2 separate regions of the Homo sapiens genome follow, and region 2 is linked to region 1. Evidence: promoter capture Hi-C in 16 types of primary human blood cells and fetal thymus (Javierre and others, 2016). All regions are on one chromosome and are shown on one strand. The core of a region is centred on a gene start or on the middle of the fragment in contact, and the rest is flanking DNA. Distances in the headings are between cores, read along the strand shown. Region 1 holds the start of HEYL (hes related family bHLH transcription factor with YRPW motif like). Region 2 has its middle 28 kb from the start of PABPC4.

Region 1 (2,903 bases), core at 229-2,728:
ATGCATAACACATTGTGCAACTTCTCTGTTAGTTGAGGTTTCCACTGACTGGCATGTGCCCACAGAAGTGATGTGAGTGCTGAGGGCATTTGGAATGAGAGTCCATAGTTGTGGCTGGGGCGACCACCAGGGCTTCCTGGTACTGATTGCTCACGACAGTTGCGCCTACCAGTATATATTTGTAAGTCTGTCCGTGTGTATGTGTTTGCATACCTGGCCAAATGGTTGTGTCTGTGGATGTGTGTGGACGGGGGCACAGGAACATTCTTTCCCATCAAGTAATCAAGTGTCCCCCAGCAAGCAGGCCTTGCTGTGGGGATGGAAGCACAGTTATTCTCAGATGACCAACCCGATTCTCCCACTTGAAGGGGTGGCTTCCCTCAGGTCCTGACCTGGTGGCGGGTAAAAAGGAAAAGACCTCTCATATCTAACCCAGCACACCAAGACCTCCTCTATCTCCTCTTCCCTGCCCAAGAAGTCCAGCTCCAGGATGCTCTCATGCAGCTTCCTTTGGAGCCTTAGGAGCTTCTCTGAGGTACTGGGCGCCTGAGGATGACCGGTGAATCTGAGAACTTCCCACAAGTCCCCCTAAGGACAGGGCAGCTAGAGCCCTCCCTGAGTGAACAGTTTGATGGGTTGCCAGAAGCAGAGGCCCCAGGAAGAGAGGCTGGAAGGTATCTTCCCTTTTCCTCTCCTTCTCCCACTTTGAGGCCCTGCCATAGCGTCTAGAAGGAGCCCTTTCCTGGCCTCCTGGCCGCCCAGGACAACTCGACCTCTGGTGAACTGGGAACTGATTCCCAGGGACAACCCACCACTGCCACCACGCCAGGCCTTTAGGGACCTCGGCCAGAGCCCAGCTTTCTCAGATGCGGTGGCCACAACTTCAGCCGTCCCTTTTGGGGGTGACTGCCACCTCTCAGAAGTGTAAGTGTCTTCCCCTTGCCCCCACCACACTATTCCACTTGCTTTGGGCCCCTATGGAGTTGCTGCTGGGGAATTCTTGCTGAGGATCAGGCCACAACCACCACGACTAACTTCGACAAACTTGATGTGTCTGCTGCCTCCAGAACACCAGGAGGCAGGAGCGCGCAGGGTTGACCCTTGCGGAATCCCGGGCATCGAAGCGGCGCCTCTACAGGCCAGCAGCGCCCAGGCGACCCAGGGACAGACGGGGACTCCTGGCTTCCCCGCGGGGCCTCCCAGGGCACCTGCCCAAGGCCACCCAGCGCGCGGCAGCCGAGACAGCGGAGCAGAGCCGGACCTCCCAGCCGTCGATGAAGGCGGCGACCGCCTAGGGCCTTCCCACGGCTCGGCGGCGCGTCACCGCGGGGGCGAGGGGGCGCCTGGGCGCCCGGAGCTGCGGCGCAGGAAAGGGCCCTGGGAAAGGGCGGTGGCGGCGCCCCCGAGGCGGGGCCGGGGCGGGGCCGGGGCGGGGCCTGACTTCCCGACTGGGAGCCTTAGCCGCGGGGCTGAGACCAGGCAGCCTGCGTTCGCCATGAAGCGACCCAAGGAGCCGAGCGGCTCCGACGGGGAGTCCGACGGACCCATCGACGTGGGCCAAGAGGGCCAGCTGAGGTAAGGGCCGGGATGCGGGGACCGAGCAGGCGGAGGGCGAGCGGGGTGGGGGTCGGCCCGACGGGCTCGCCGAGCAGGCGGGCCAGCCCTCCAGCACCGCCTGGGCAGAGGCAGGTGAGCGCGGGGGCCACAGGTGTCGGCGTAGGGGGCGTGTGCGGGCCGTGCCGTTACACGCACGAGTGCCTGGATCCTGCGCGCTCTCGGTCGTGCAGGGCTGGGGATGCTGGCAGGGAGGGAGAGTTCAGCTCGGGGGATCAGGTGGCTAGTGGGTTATCATCTATCTGTTGAAGTGGCCTAGGGGAGGCCATTGGCAGGTTTTCCCTGGAGATCTTAGAAAACTCTCATAGACTGATGGTACTCTGGCCCCTGTCTGGAATCTGCTGACGATGCAGAGTAACCCCATCCTTTCCCAATTTTACCCTAGTTTGGATGCAGTTTTCATGTAGTCCACAAATTATTTCAGGAAGAAGAAAATTTGTCCTCCTTTGAGCAAATTGGAGTTTGGATTTAGGGACTTAGTATTGAAGAAAATAATAAGCGACTTGCAAGGGCCTAGACTCTAATTCCAATGTTCCTCCTATCGTGCCCCCATACTGCCAGTGTCTTTCAGCTCCTGGTAGATAGTCTGACCTGCTTCAAACCTGTCGAACAAACTGCGCTTGTATAGTTCTGCTACCTCGCAGTTCTGTAAACTGTCTAAGCTTCAGTTTCCTTATCTGTTAAATGAGCATGAATAATAGAACCAACTTCATGGAAATATTGGGAAAACCAAATGAGGCAAAGTATGTCAAGGGCTTAGCACAGCACATGCCTAGGTACACACCATGTGATTCCCAGCACCCTGAAAGAGCTGCAGGGCTGACTGGGAGTCTGCAGACCTGGGTCCCAGCCCCAAATCTGCCACCAACTCACTATGTGGTCTTGGGCCATTGGTTTCCCTGACAGAGTCTGTCATCAGTTTCCCCATCAGTAAAACAAAGACAGCAGTGGAAAAGAAAGGGATATACTTCATCTCTCTTGGCTCATCTAGACTTGACTCTCTAGAACAGAATTGGAGGGGAATTCAGTTAATTCTTTCTTTCTTTCTTTTTGACATGGTCTCACTCTGTTGCCCATGCTGGAGTGCAGTGGCATGATCATAGCTCATGGCAACCTTGATCTCCTGGGCTTAAGTGATCCTCCTGCCTTGGCCTCCCAAAGTGTTGGGATTACAGACATAAGCCAGTGAGCCAGGCCCAGTTAATTCTTAGGGATGTTTTTGAGGACATTTTGTAATTTTAGTGCTCTCCAGTTTTCTGAGATCCAAGGATCCTGCCTCAGTCTCAAAT
Region 2 (2,903 bases), core at 173-2,672, 35 kb after region 1:
AATAGAACAAAAAGGCCACCCCTCCCTCAAGTAAGAGGCAATGTCTCCTGCCTGACCGTATGAGCTGGGACATGGGTCTTTTCCATTCTATAGATTTGAACTGAAACATTGGCTTTTCTTGGATCTCAAGCCAGTAGACTTTCAGACTGGAACACACATTGGCTCTCCTGGGTCTCCAGCTTGCTAACTGCAGATCTTGGGACTTCTCAACCTTCATAATCACATAAGCCAGTTTCTCATAATAAATAAATGGGTCCTGGCCGGGTGCAGTGGCTCACGCTTGTAATCCCAGCACTTTGGGAGGCCAAGGTGGGCGGATGACAAGGTCACGAGTTCAAGACCAGCCTGGGCAATATGATGAAACCCAGTCTCTACTAAAAATACAAAAATTAGCTGGGCCTGGTGGCAGGCGCCTGTAGTCCCAGCTACTCGGGAGGCTGAGGCAAGAGAATCGCTTGAACCCGGGAGGTGGAGATTGCAGTGAGCCAAGATTGTGCCACTGAACTCCAGCCTGGGCGACAGAGCGAGACTCCATCTCAAAAAAAAAATAAATAAATAAAAATAAGTCCTGTTGGTTCTGTTTCTCTGGAGAGCCCTAATACATTTTTTTTTTTTTCGAGACAGGCTCTTGCTCTGTCACCCAGGCTGGAGTCCAGTGGCGCTATCTCGGCTCACTGCAACCTCCGCCTCCCGGGATCAAGAGAATCTCGTGCCTCAGCTTCCAAAGTAGCTGGGACTAAAAGCATGTGCCATCACACCCAACTAATTTTTGTATTTTTGGTATTGATGGGGTTTCACCACGTTGGCCAGGCTGGTCTCAAATTCCTGACCTCAAATGATCTGCCCGCCTCGGCCTCCCAAAATGCTGGGATTACAGGCGTAAGCCACCACGCCGAGCCCTGACTAATACATTCTGTTTTATACAAACTGTTTTTACTGGGTGGAAAAGAAGGGAAAACTGCCTAACTTGTTTTGTAATACTAGTATGCCCTTGTCATCAGCCCACGACAGGGCAATTAAAGGTAAGAACATTTTAGAACAAGCTTAGTTACGGTTATAGATACAAACATCCTAAATAATAAAACAGAATCCATATGACATCTAAATTAGAAGCAAATATGTAGTAGAGTTTAGCCAAAAATGCAAGGATAGGTTAACAACAGGGAAAGAATTCCTGTTCTGAACCTTAATACATTAAAAGATAAAAAGTATATAATCACTTAAATAAATAATCATTTGATGAATTCATTCATTTTTCAAATCTTAGCAAATTAGGATTAGTAGGATAATACCTTAACCCTATAAAGGATATTTGCCAAATTCCTAAACATCAAATTCAACGGTGAAACTCTAGCATTCCCATAAAAGTTAAAAATATGAATGCCCTTTATTCAAAATTTGATGGGCATTTCTAGCTAATGTAATAAATATAATAGAAATCAGAGGCTTAGGAAGTAGGAAGAGGTAACACCATTCTTATATGCATGATTCATTTTCTATTTGGAAAATAAAAATCTACATGCAGAGCATTAGAATTGATAAGAGTATTTGACAGGTTAGTTGAATACAAGATCATCCCACACATTCTGACAGCACTCTTGTTAATTGCTTATTGGAGTAACAACAAATAAGAACATATTGTGTCCAGAGTCGGTTCCTTCTGGTGGGTTCTTGGTCTCACTGACTTCAAGAATGAAGCTGTGGACCTTCCCGGTGAGTGTTACAGCTCTTAAAGATGGCACGGGCCCAAAGAGTAAGCACCAGCGAGTTTTATTATGAAAAGTGAAAGAACAAAGCTTCCACAGCTTGGAAGGGGACCCAAGCCGGTTGTGGTGGCTGGCTGGGGTGGGGGGGGGTGGCCAGCTTTTATTCCCTTATTTGTCCCCACCCATGTCCTGCTGATGGGTTCATTTTACAGAGCACTGATTGGTCCATTTTACAGTGTGCTGATTGGCGCATTTTACAAACCTCTAGCTAGCCACAGAGCGCTGATTGGTGCATTTTTCAATCCTAGCTACAGAGTGCCAGTTGGTGCATTTTACAATTTTCTTGTAAGACAGAAAAGTTCTCCAAGTCCCCACCCAACCCAGAAGTCCAGGTGGCTTCACCTCTCAATGTGGCTGGGCTTGGAGGCTCACACCTGTAATCCCAACACTTTGGGAGGCTGAGGTGGGTGGATCACCGAGGTCAGGAGTTTGAGACCACCCTGGCCAACATAGAGAAACCCTGTCTCTGCTAAAAATACAAAAATTAGCCAGGTGTGGTGGTGCTTGCCTGTAATCCCAGCTACTCAGGAGGCTGAGGCAGGAGAATCGCCTGAACCCGGGCAGCGGAGGTTGCAGTGAGCCGAGATGGCTCCCCTGCACTCCAGCCTGGGGGACAGAGCAAGACTCCATCTCAAAAAAAAAAAAGCAAAAAAAAGCTGGGTGGGGTGGCTCACGCCTGTAATCCCAGCACTTTGGGAGGCCGAGGTGGGTGGATCACGAGGTCAAGAGATCAAGACCATCTTGGCCAACATGGTGAAACCCCGTTTCTACTAAAAATACAAAAATTAGGTGAGCGTTGTGGCACACACCTGTAGTCCCACCTACTCGGGAGGCTGAGGCAGCAGAATCACTTGTACCTGGAAGGCAGAGGTTGCAGTGAGCCGAGATCACACCACTGCACTCCAGCCTGGCGACAGAGTGAGAATCTGTCTCAAAAAAAAAAAAAAAGAAAGAATGTATTATTTATAATGCATTTCCAATAGCAACAAAAATTATAAGGCACCTAGGAATATACATGTAACATATTGATCTGCATTGATCAATATACAAAATATACATATAACAAAAGATGGCTAGATGTTTTCTCAGAAAACTATGAAACATTTTTAAATGTAAAGGAATACAAAACTAAACATA

Evidence for each region. Contacts are between HindIII fragments. The CHiCAGO score rates a contact against its expected background, and 5 or more counts as called.
Region 2: a contact is called between a fragment that was not itself captured here and the fragment with the promoter of HEYL in region 1, in 1 of 17 cell types (megakaryocytes). The highest score is 7.6, in megakaryocytes.

What each region holds. Positions count from the first base shown.
Region 1 is chr1:39,638,218-39,641,120 of GRCh38, reverse strand. It overlaps HEYL (hes related family bHLH transcription factor with YRPW motif like), which reads left to right and starts at 1,478. Exons shown (of 5, transcript NM_014571.4): 1 at 1,478-1,575. The coding sequence starts at 1,496. RefSeq lists silencers at 1,122-1,511, 1,632-1,701. The HindIII fragment of the contact is 7,834 bases long and covers 1-2,278 here.
Region 2 is chr1:39,602,955-39,605,857 of GRCh38, reverse strand. No RefSeq gene overlaps it. Among named protein-coding and RNA genes, the nearest start is that of PABPC4, 28 kb to the right of the region's middle. The HindIII fragment of the contact is 753 bases long and covers 1,046-1,798 here.